Regions from separate parts of the Homo sapiens genome. Here regions 2 and 3 are each linked to region 1. Evidence: promoter capture Hi-C in human tissues and cell types (Jung and others, 2019). All regions are on one chromosome and are shown on one strand. The core of a region is centred on a gene start or on the middle of the fragment in contact, and the rest is flanking DNA. Distances in the headings are between cores, read along the strand shown.

The links. The method cuts DNA at HindIII sites, captures the fragments that hold promoters and counts their contacts. A contact is called where the count stands out against the background at its distance.
Region 2: a fragment that was not itself captured here is called in contact with the fragment with the promoter of NPRL3 in region 1 in 1 of the 25 tissues and cell types used here (dorsolateral prefrontal cortex).
Region 3: a contact is called between the fragment with the promoter of WFIKKN1 here and the fragment with the promoter of NPRL3 in region 1, in 2 of the 25 tissues and cell types used here (dorsolateral prefrontal cortex and lymphoblastoid cells).

What each region holds. Positions count from the first base shown.
Region 1 is chr16:137,323-141,262 of GRCh38, forward strand. NPRL3 (NPR3 like, GATOR1 complex subunit) reads right to left here and starts at 1,351. Exons shown (of 14, transcript NM_001077350.3): 1 at 1,320-1,351; 2 at 828-1,012. The coding sequence starts at 945. RefSeq lists a silencer at 781-1,010 and an enhancer at 1,231-1,280. The HindIII fragment of the contact is 17,392 bases long and covers 1-3,940 here.
Region 2 is chr16:501,538-505,343 of GRCh38, forward strand. It overlaps RAB11FIP3 (RAB11 family interacting protein 3), which reads left to right. Exons shown (of 14, transcript NM_014700.4): 7 at 1,467-1,560. Among named protein-coding and RNA genes, the nearest start is that of LINC00235, 24 kb to the right of the region's middle. The HindIII fragment of the contact is 7,970 bases long and covers 1-3,806 here.
Region 3 is chr16:628,367-632,277 of GRCh38, forward strand. It overlaps WFIKKN1 (WAP, follistatin/kazal, immunoglobulin, kunitz and netrin domain containing 1), which reads left to right and starts at 2,619. Exons shown (of 2, transcript NM_053284.3): 1 at 2,619-3,058. The coding sequence starts at 2,888. RAB40C (RAB40C, member RAS oncogene family) reads left to right here. Exons shown (of 6, transcript NM_021168.5): 6 at 1-902. RefSeq lists enhancers at 1,244-1,977, 1,503-1,797, 1,978-2,712. The HindIII fragment of the contact is 11,828 bases long and covers 1-3,911 here.

The DNA.
Region 1 (3,940 bases), core at 101-2,600:
GGGTGAGGTTGATCCCTGCTTGCAAAGGCAGACGGAGCTCCAAGGCCGACTATGGGAAAAGGGCGCCACAGAACAATTCGTGCGATGAAAAACCTCACGCGACGTTCCCTTTTCCTGTGGATAGATCTGCATCTATGCACAGGGCAGACAACTCCCAACACGGCCAGGGGTGATCCCTGTGCTTGCTAGAACTGGGGGTGGCAAAGACAACTTCAGATGTTCACGTAACTTTTTTTTTTTTTTTTGAGACGGAGTCTTGCTCTGTTGCCCAGGCTGGAATCCAGTGGCGCGATCTCGGTTCACTGAAACCTCCGCCTCCCGGGTTCAAGCAATTCTCCTGCCTCAGCCTCCCAAGTAGCTAGGATTATGGGCACGCACCACCACGCTCGGCTAATTTGTTTTTTTTTATTTTTATTTTTTCAGTAGAGACAGAGTTTCAACCATGTTGGCCAGGCTGGTCTCGAACTCCTGACCTCAGGTGATCCACCCGCCTCGGCCTCCCAAAGTGCTGGGATTACCGCCACCGGCCTTGTTCGTGTAATTTTGTATTTTCTCATGATGAATACATCCCAAACTCATTTTATTTTATTTTACTTTATTTTTTAAAGGCTGGAGACTGATGAAATGTCAGCAGTAGTTGCTTTGGTGTGGTGAACAATGCATGATTTTAATTTTTTTTTTCCTTTTTCTACTTTTCAAATACTCTACAACGAGCAGATCTCGAATGCCCAGCAAAAGCTAAGCTCCGCGAGGCGGCCCTGGAATGAGGCGACCCCGGAATGAGGCGGCCCCCGCGAGCGCCAGGCCCCCGCCCAGCGCTCACTTACTTGTCTGGGACGCCGGGTGCTCCTGGCTTCTCTGGAAGGGGTACCTGAACAGCAGCTTATTGCCCCTGCTCCCCGAGCTCACCAGAATCACGCTGATGGGGCTGGTGTTGTCCCGCATCCCGCCGTGGGGCCGGGGCCGGGGGCGGAGGGGGCCAGAGGAGGACGGAGCCGGAGGCGGAGGGGGCCTGAGGAGGACGGAGCCGGAGGCGGAGGGGGCCTGAGGAGGACGAGGCGGGGACGCAGGGGGCCTGAGGAGGGCAGGGGTGGAGGCGGAGGGGGCCTGAGGAGGGCAGGGGTGGAGGCGGAGGGGGCCTGAGGAGGGCAGGGGTGGAGGCGGAGGGGGCCTGAGGAGGGCAGGGGTGGAGGCGGAGGGGGCCTGAGTAGGGCAGGGGTGGAGGCGGAGGGGGCCTGAGGAGGGCAGGGGTGGAGGCGGAGGGGGCCTGAGGAGGACAGGGGTGGTGGTGGACGCGGAGCAGCGCCACAGTTACCAACCCACGTGCCACGCTCCGGGCTCGCGAGACTTCGGCGACACCGTCCGGAGGAGGTGCTAAGGCGGCGGCCGGGAGAACGGCGCAGGCGCAGGCGCAGGCGCAGGCAGCGGAATGCGCAGGCGCGGGGCCTTCTGGAAGCCACCGAGTTCCGCGGTGCTGTCTGGAGCCGTACGGTTCGCGTTTGGGGCACAGGGGCCCCTCTTGCTGGTGCGGATGGGAAAGGCGCGGGGTCGAGTCAGCGTCCCTCTCGATGTTGGTTTCTTCGTTTTACAAATAACACTTGGGCGGGGCGCGGTGGCTCACGCCTGTAATCCCAGCATTTTGGGAGGCCGAGGCGGGCGGATCACGAGGTCAGGAGATCGAGACCATCCTAGCTAACATAGTGAAACCCCATCTCTACTAAAAATTAGAAGAAATTATCCGGGCGTGGTGGCAGGCGCCCGTAATCCTAGAGGAGAATCGCTTGAACCCGGGAGGCGGAGGTTGCATTGAGCCAAGATCACGCCATTGCACTCCACCCTGGGCGACAGAGCGACGAGACCCCGTATCAAAAAAAAAAAAAAGAAAGAAAGAAAGAAAAAAGAAAAAAAAAAGGCCGGGCGCGGTGGCTCACGCCTGTAATCCCAGCACTTTGGGAGGCCGAGGCGGGTGAATCACGAGGTCAGGAGTTCGAGACCATCCTGGCCAACATGGTGAAACCCCGTCTCTACAAAAAAAAAAAAAAAAATTAGCCGGGCGTGGTGGCGGGCGCCTGTAATCCCAGCTACTCGGGAGGCTGAGACAGGAAAATCGCTTGAACCCGGGAGGCGGAGCTTGCGGTGAGCCGAGATTGCGCCACTGCACTACAGCCTAGGCGACAGAGCGAGACTCCGTCTCAAAAAAAAAAAAAAAAAAAAAAAACACTTGGAAGCCGACAGGAGATCTTTGAGACCTTGGGCGAGGCAGTGACACTAAAGGCAGGAGCGACTACAGAAGAATAAATTAAACTTCATCAGATTAAAAACTTTACTGCGGCCGGGCGCGGTGGCTCACGCCTGAAATCCCAGCACTTTGGGAGGCCGAGGTGGGCAGATCATGAGATCAGGAGATCTAGACCATCCTGGCCAACATGGTAAAACCCCGTCTCTCTACTAAAAATACAAAAATTAGCTGGGTTTGGCGGCGCCTGCTTCTAATCCCAGCTACTCGGGAGGCTGAGGCAGGAGAATCGCTTGAAGCCGGGAGGCGGAGGTTGCAGTGAGCCGAGATCGTGCCACTGAACTCTGGCCTGGCGACAGAGCGAGACTCCATCTCAAAACAAAACAAAAACTTCGGTGCTTTAAAGGACACCATCAAGAAAATTAAAAGTCCACCCACAGAACGGGAGAAAATATTTGTAAGTTACATATCTGATAAGGGAATTGTATCTAGAATGGAGGAAACTTACAACTCAACAATAAAAAGACAATTGAAAAATGCACAAAGGATATGAATATTTTTCCAGTGCATTATGCAAATGGCCAATAAGCACCAGAAGATGCTCAGCTCAACTGGTAGAGGCTTACGCCTGTGACCCCAGCGCTGAGAGGCCAGGAACTCCAGACCAGCCTGGGCAAAACAGAAATTAAAAATGCTCAACATTATTAGGCATTAGGGAGATGCAAATCAAAACTACAAATAGATGCCACATCACACCTCCTACGATGGCTGTAATCAAAAAGACAAGCGTCAGCAGGGGTGTGGAGAAACGGGAATCTCTCTCCTGCTGGTGGGAATGTAAGAGGCTACACTCGCTATGGAAAACAGGCTGGCAGTTCCTGAAAGGTTAGAGTTAACACAACACTCGGCAAATCCCCCTTTTAGATATATAGCCAAGAGAAATGAAAGCATATGTCCACACAAAAACATGTGTGTTCTTAGTAATATTATTCATAATAGCCCAAAGTGGAAGCAATCCTAGGGTATATCAATTGATGAATGGGTGAATATGGTATAGTTTGTTTAAGGGAATACTATTCAGCCATAAAAAGGAATGAAGTACGGCACATGAATCCATCTTGAAGACACACTAATATATGATTCCATTTATATAAGATGCCCAGAATAGGCAAATCCATAGAGACAGAATGATTAGTGGCTGCCTAGGGCTTCCAGGGGGTCAGGGGAAATATGGAGCGATTCATGGGTTTTTTGAAGGGGAGTGATGAAAATGTTCTAACGTTGACTGTGGTAATGGTTGGACAGCTCTGAGAACGCGAATACACTAAAAGACATGGAAGTGCCGGGCGCAGTGGCTCATGCCTGTAATCCCAGCGCTTTGGGAGGCCAAGGCAGGCGGATCGCGAGGTCAGGAGATCGAGACCATCCTGGCTAAGACAGTGAAACCCCGTGTCTACTAAAAATACAAAAAATTAGCTGGACATGGTGCGGGCGCCTGTAGTCCCAGATACTCAGGAGGCTGAGGCAGGAGAATGGTGTGAACCCGGGAGGCGGAGCTTGCAGTGAGCCAAGATCGCACCATTGCACTCCAGCCTGGGCGACAGAGCGAGACTCCATCTCAAAAACAAAAAAAAGATATGGAAGTGTACACTTGAAGTGGATAAGCTTTATGGTATGCAAATTGGTATGGTATGGTAAATTATA
Region 2 (3,806 bases), core at 1,192-3,691, 370 kb after region 1:
CATTTCACAGGCAAGGAAGCTGGGAGAGGGTCCCCCATTTCATAGGCAAGGAAGCTGGGAGAGGGTCCCCCCATTTCACAGGCAAGGAAGCTGGGAGAGGGTCCCCCCATTTCACAGACAAGTTCAGAGAGGCTCCCCCCATTTCATAGGCAGGGAAGCTGGGAGAGGGTCCCCCCATTTCACAGACAAGTTCGGAGAAGGTCCCCCATTTCATAGGCAAGGAAGCTGGGAGAGGGTCCCCCCATTTCACAGGCAAGGAAGTTCAGAGAGGGTCCCCCCATTTCACAGACAAGGAAGTTCGGAGAGGATCCCCCATTTCATAGGCAAGGAAGCTGGGAGATGGTCCCCCCATTTTATAGGCAAGGAGTCTGGGAGAGTGTCCCCCCATTTCATAGGCAAGGAGGCTGGGAGAGGGTCCCCCCATTTCATAGGCAAGGAGGCTGGGAGAGGGTCCCCCCATTTCATAGGCAAGGAAGCTCGGAGAGGGCCAGTGCTTTTTAACGGTCACGCAGTTCTGAGCATCAGGCTGTCAGCCTGGAGCCTGGCTTGGTACTGAGGTTCCCAGGATGTATAAAGAACTGAACACGCACCTTTGCTGTTGGCTCTTCTGTGCGAGTGCTCTGAGAGTTTTCTGTACTCCCGGCAAGTTTGGGTTGGTACAGATTCACCACAGCGAATCTGACCACGTGGTGACCACAAGCACGCGCTTACTGCGCGCCTAAGTTCACACTCCCTGGAGAAGCTCCTGCCCCAAGGCCGCAGCCTATGGGCCTTTGCGTCTACTCAGGACCATGAGGCTGTGTCCCCGAGCCTGGCCCGGGTAGTAACTGGCATGGCCTGCGGTGCTGGGGGCGTGTCCACAGGAGCTGGTGCCACAGAGGACACGTGTGTCTGCTGTCTTCCTGGACTCGGTCGGACCAGTTTCCCAGTGTGTCCGTGAGGGTGACACTGAGTGAGACTTCTGGGATCCACACCTTTCCTGGGACCCTCACTCTTCCTGCCACAGAAAGCACCTGTGAAAGTCTGAGATCAAGAATGTGCACAGGGGAGGTGTCTGCAGGTCAAGGTCCTGAGCTGATGTCTCACAGGCCTCTGGTAGAGACGAGATTGTTCGTGTCTCTGCGAAGAAGGGCATGTTTTATTGCAGCCAAGTACAAAGTCCTCTCTGCCACTCGCTGGCTGGGACTGAGGTCATGTTCTGTCAGGTTCCAAAGAGCGCCAGGAAGACTCTGAGACCACAGAGCACGGCCTGCTTTCTCCCAGCCCCTGGTAAAGATGTCCAGCCTGGGACCTCCCCCTGTATATAGTGCTTTAAGTGGGAGAAGACCACCACCCAGATCAGGGGAGGACCTGTCCCCTGCAATGCTGCTGCCTGCTTTTCAGATTGACTTGGGAGTGCTTGTGCTGACGGAGCATGTCCTGTGGTTTTTCCCTTTCTTCCCTCTGTTGTTGTGCCTTTTCTGTAGGTACCTGCACCAGTCAGGGGCCCTGACCATGGAGGCCCTGGAGGACCCTTCCCCCGAGCTCATGGAGGGCCCAGAGGAGGACATTGCTGACAAGGTAGGCCCTGGAGGGCTGGGTAGGTGGCAAGTAGGGGATTTAGAACACAGCCACGCCTAAGGGCCGCTGCAGACACCCCGGGAGGTGGGGACAGCACAGCCGGAGGTGACCCCATGTCCTCCAGGGCTCCCCAGACTGTCCATCCAGCCCCGATGCTCTTTGGCAGGTTTCCCCAAGGGGTCTCGTGGCCATGTGAGAAAAAGGAGTCTTCCTGTTGTGCACGAAGGGCCAGCTGGGAGGAGTGGACTGGGCAGTGAGTGAGCACCCTCGGGTATCCCACCCCCACTGTGTCTGAGTCGGGCTGGGGGACACCCAGACATTCAGTCCACCAGGCCCATGGAGACGCGACCTGGGGCACCCATGATTTGGGAGAAAAGGGCTGGCCCTGCAGTTACTGCAGAGCCAACAGCCTGAGGAACGGGCTTCTCCTGGGGCCTTGAATGGAATGGGTGACAGCAGCCAGGGCAAGGCAGCCTTGCCGTGGTCAAGACCCGCTTTTCAGCCAGATGTGGTGGCTCACGCCTGGAATCCCAGCACATTAGGAGGCCTAGGCGGGCAGATCACTTGAGGTCAGGAGTTTGAGATCAGCCTGGCCAACATAGTGAAAACCCGTCTCTACTAAAAATACAAAAGTTAGCCACGCATGGTGGCGGGCAACTGTAATCCCAGCTATTTGGGAGGCTGAGGCAGGAGAATCACTTGAACCTGGGAGGTGGAGGTTGCAGTGAGCCGAGATTGCACGACTGCACTCCAGCCTGGGCGACAGAGGGAGACTCCGTCTCACCTTCTGCACCCCCTCACCTTCTGTGACCCCTTCACTTACTCCTGTACCCCCTCAATTCCTCCTGTACCCCTCATCTCCTCCTGTACCCCCTCACCACCTCCTGTACCCCCTCACCACCTCCTGTACCCCCTCACTACCTCCTGTACCCCCTCACTACCTCCTGTACCCCCTCACCTCCTCCTGTACCCCCTCACCTCCTTGTGTACCCCCTCACCTCCTGTACCCCCTCACCTCCTCCTGTACCCCCCCACCTCCTCCTGTACCCCCTCACCTCCTCTTGCACTCCCATCTCCTCCTGTACCCCCTCACCTCCTTGTGCACCCCCTCACCTCCTGTACCCCCTCACCTCCTCCTGTACCCCCTCACCTCCTCCTGTACCCCCTCACCTCCTCCTGTACCCCCCTCACCTCCTCCTGTACCCCCTCACCTCCTCCTGCACTCCCATCTCCTCCTGTACCCCCTTACCTCCTTGTGCACCCCTCACCTCCTGTACCCCCTCACCTCCTCCTGTACCCCCCTCACCTCTTCCTGCACTCCCATCTCCTCCTGTACCCCCTCACCTCCTTGTGCACCCCTCACCTCCTGTACCCCCTCACCTCCTCCTGTACCCCCCTCACCTCTTCCTGTACCCCCTCACCTCCTCCTGCACTCCCATCTCCTCCTGTACCCCCTCACCTCCTTGTGCACCCCTCACCTCCTGTACCCCCTCACCTCCTCCTGTACCCCCCTCACCTCTTCCTGTACCCTTCACTTCCTCCTGTACCCCCTCACCTCCTCCTGCACCCCCCTTACCTCCTGTACCCCCTCACCTCCTCCTGTACCGCCTCACCTCCTCCTATACCCCCTCACCTCCTCCTATACCCCCTCACCTCTTCCTGCACCCTCCTCACCTCCTCCTGCACCCCCATCTCCTCCTGTACCCCCCTCACCTCCTGTACCCCCTCATCTCCTGTACCCCCTTACCTCCTCCTGCACCCCTCACCTCCTGTACCCCCTCACCTCCTCCTGCTCCCCCACCTCCTCCTATACCCCCATCTCCTCCTGTACTCTCTCACCTCCTCCTGTACCTCCTCACCTCCTCCTGTACTTCACCTCCTCTTGCATCCCCACCACCTCCTCCCTACAACTTCTCTAGCATCTCAAGTCTGCTGACCCAGGCCAAGTCCTCCTCTGCTCCCTTCACTCCTTCTCCTACCTCCGCAGGTGTCTGATTCTCATCTTGGTGTGAACTCTCTGAGGGAGGGACCGAGACATGGATCTGTCTGTCCCTTGCATCCATGGGCACCTGGGCTGCCTCTGTGAGCTGCATCTGGCTGAGCAGAGACCCAACTGTGTGTTGGGGGGCTGAGTCTTGCTGCCCACCAGCCAGCCAGTCCAAAGGCACCCCTGGGCCCCGAGCCCTCAGAGCTGCGGCACTGTGTGCATTTGTGGGTCGAATGACAGTGCTCCCCAAGACCCCGGC
Region 3 (3,911 bases), core at 1,369-3,868, 490 kb after region 1:
ATCATCTCGCCCACCCTGGAGAGTGCAGAGCTATCTGTAGACTTAGGAATACTTGATGGGCAGCGGTGCAGACCCCGGGCACCTGCGTGCAGCCTCCTGTTCTCGGCAGCTTCTGTCGCTGGCCCTGGGGTCCCCACAGCTGCAGCTCTCCTGTGAGGTTGCACGGCATCAGAACCATCCTGACCTTCTTAGGGACGTGCCTGGAACCACCTCGTCCACGTCCACGTCCACCTGGGGGCCTCGGGAGGCTAGGCCCCTCCTCAAAGGCCCACCAGCCCGGCGCTCATGCTGAGCCCCAGGCACGCAGGGCCGGCCACCTCTCTCCTGAAGCCATTGGCCGCTCCTCCACCCAGTGCTTCTGCCCATGCCTGCCCCAGCAGCCCCTCTGCACGGTCACCATCGCCTGGGCCTGCCCACAGCACTGGTGCTCACCTCTACCTCCTGTCCTCAGGCCGTGCGGCACGACATGGCCAGCACGCAGAAGGAGCCCTCCCGGGACCCAGGACCCCCCGTGGTGGACTCCGCGGCACATGCTTCCCAAGGTGGTCCCACGGAGGGTGTTACTGGGCACCAGTGGACTCGCCCCATGGCCCGTTCCTGGGAGATGAGGGCCGTGGCCTGCATGAACTACCAGATGAGTAAGGGAACCCCAGGCAGGCGGCCCTGCCACAGCCCCCAAAGACACTGGCCTCCTGCTCCAGCTTCCCTGTCCTGGCCCCACCTGTCCTGTTGCTGCCAGCAGGGCCCTTGTTTGGGATTATGAACAAACCTCACAGACTTTGAGGACCTGGATGGTCCTGCATTCACGGCATCAACACTACCCGCGCTGCTGTTAGACACTCCGCCATTCCTGGTTCTCTCCGAACCGTTCTTTGTACAGTAAATGTAATTCAGCTGTGGTCCCCACGTTTTGCTGTGTCTGGTGGGGTGGGTCTGGCAGTGGCGGTGCCCCGTGCCAGGGGCCAGTGCTGCTTCATACCCGGCAAACTGACCTCTGGCCTTTGTTTTGCCTGCTGTTCCCTGCGCTGACCGGGCTGACCTGCCGCGGTTGGCTGGGTTCGCCTCAAAGTGAGGGCTGGAGCTGGGCTGGAGCAGCTGGGCCTGGTCACGGCCATTCTCCTCTTCCCGGTGGATGGAATCCCAGCTGGGCTGTGCTGAGCCCTCGCTCACAGTCCCCGGCAGCAGATGGCCTGGGGCGGACTGTCCCCAACAGCAGCAGGACTCCAGAGGGCCAGGTCCTCCAGTCAGTCGGCCCGCTCAGCAGAGCCGCCTGCACGCTGGCCAATCTGGTGTCTGCTATGCCCGGCCCAGGGGGGTGTGGACGCCCCGGAGGTCACAGCTGAGCTGGAACGGGGCACTCCAGTTGGTACAGGGACCAGACCACAGCCTCTGGCTCAGGTGCCTCCCTGTGCTGTTTCGTGGGCATGTCCGGGCCTTAAGCCCCTCCCTGGCAGCTCCAGCCCAGCCGCCTGCTGCTGGGTCTGGCCTAGCTACCCCCACCCCCACGCTATCAGGGCCCACCCCCAGTCTCCTTGTAGAGCAGGGACTGGCGCCTGGAGCCGTCTCCGGGTCTCATTCTGACCAGACCAGGCTCCTGTTACCCTGCCTCCTGGGTCAGAGGTCAGACACAGGGTCAGGGGGACACTCCCATCCGGTCTCAAGAGAACCACTCCCTGAGGCCCCAGACATCTGGAGCCACAGAGGGTTTGGAAGGGTAGATTCCAGGCAGCCTTTTGTCCTGCTGCACCAGGCAGGCCAGCCCCCTGCCCTCCCCAACGAAGAGGAGCCAGCCTGGGGATGTGTGCCCCGCCGACGGGGGGCTGGGGCAGGGCAAGGCTCTGGTGCCCTGGGACACTTGCTCTTTTCAGCTGCAGACGCCCTTGCACTTGGCCTTCCCTCGGGCGGTGCCATCCCACGCGGAGCCACGTCCAGGGCTACACGGTGCGTGGGCCGAGGCTCCGGCATCAGCGTTTCGGGCTGTTCTTATGCTTGTGGTGGCCACAGGCCTCTTCCTGCTGCACCTGCCCCGCCTTGGGGACAGGCCTGAGCCCCAAGCCCGCTGCCTGGTTTCAGGGATGGGGTCTCTGGGAATGCAGTCCTGCCGGGTTGGGCCCCACTCCAACAGGGGCAGCAGAGCAGAGGAGGCCGGGCTGTGCTGGGCGTCCTGCAGACCCCTGTGCCCCTGAAACAGCCATGGAGGGGGGAAGGAACCTCGGAGCGGAGTGAAGCCCTCGGCCGCACGTGACCGTTGCCAGCCTGGACCTGGCCCGGGGGACCCAGGCTGTGGTCAGCCACGCTCTGCGGGGAGGGCCCGTGCCTGCCACCCCCATGGCATAGGAGCCTGGGGTCCAGAGGGCGCCAGGGACAAAAGCTGGGATCTGCTGGCCCTGCCCCCACCCTACTGAGGGTCGTCAAGGAGATTGATCTCAGCCCAGGGGTGGACGAAGGGGTTCAGGTTACAGGGTCCCCTCCCCTCCCCCTCTCCAGCCAGAGCCAGCCCTTCCCCGCCCCGGTGACCCTCATGGCCAGTGGCTCTGTGCTCATGGGCCTCTGGCCCCTCCCCAACCTCCTCCCCTCTGCCCTGTGCTGACCAGGGCCTGGGAGCCCCCGCACGGTTCAGACAGAGGGGCCAGGCTGAAGCTGGAGAGGAACCAGCGTCACACAGACGGCCTCTGAGAACTTGGAGACCCCGTTACCCACCCAGCAGGGGTGTCAGGACAAGCATCTGCTGCAGGCTTCAGCCTCAGGGGCAAAAGGGAGCCCCGGGGTCCTGGTGGGGGCACCGACCACAGGCCCGGAGGGTGGATGCCTGCAGGAAGCTGGGCTCTGTGGAGCCCGAGGAGGGGCTGGTGGCCACACCCCCCGGCCCCCTGGCTCGGCGGCCCTCATGCCCGCCCTACGTCCACTCCTGCCGCTCCTGCTCCTCCTCCGGCTGACCTCGGGGGCTGGCTTGCTGCCAGGGCTGGGGAGCCACCCGGGCGTGTGCCCCAACCAGCTCAGCCCCAACCTGTGGGTGGACGCCCAGAGCACCTGTGAGCGCGAGTGTAGCAGGGACCAGGTGAGTGTGGTCGGGCCGGGGTCCTGGGGCTCAGAGCAGCCAGCCTGGGCAAGACCCTGCTGGAGGTGCCACCTTCTGCCTGGGCTCCCCAGACTTCTGGGGGGTCTGGGTCTGGGCCCCTTAAGGGGCCCAGAGACACCCCCATCGTTGCCCTCATTTGTCTTAAGAATAAGAGCCCTCCCCACTCCAGCTTTCATGCTCCCCATGTGCCTCCACCCTGGGGCACCATCATCCTCGGCGACCACCCCCACCCCGTCACTGCCTCTCCTCCCACCCTCTCCTCCCACCCTCTCCTCCCATCCACTTCTCCCACCCCTTCACTGCCTCTCCTTCCATCCTCTCCTCCCACCCTCTCCTCCCATCCACTCCTCCCATCCACTTCTTCCATCCTCTTCTCCCACCCCGTCACTGCCTCTCCTTCCATCCTCTCCTATCCACTCCTCCCATCCACTTCTTCCATCCTCTTCTCCCACCCCATCACTGCCTCTCCTTCCATCCTCTCCTATCCACTCCTCCCATCCACTTTTTCCATCCTCTTCTCTCACCCCGTCATTGCCTCTCCTTCCATCCTCTCCTCCCATCCACTTCTCCCACCCCTTCACTGCCTCTCCTCCCACCCTCTCCTCCCATCCACTCCTCCCATCCACTCCTCCCATCCACTTCTTCCATCCTCTTCTCCCACCCCGTCACTGCCTCTCCTTCCATCCTCTCCTCCCACCCTCTCCTTCCATCCTCTCCTCCCACCCTCTCCTTCCATCCACTGTCCTCCCTGTCCTCCCACCCTCCTTCCATCCGGGACCAGTGCAGATGGTGGTGGGGGTGCTGCAGCCGATGTCCAGCCTTTGTCCTGGCC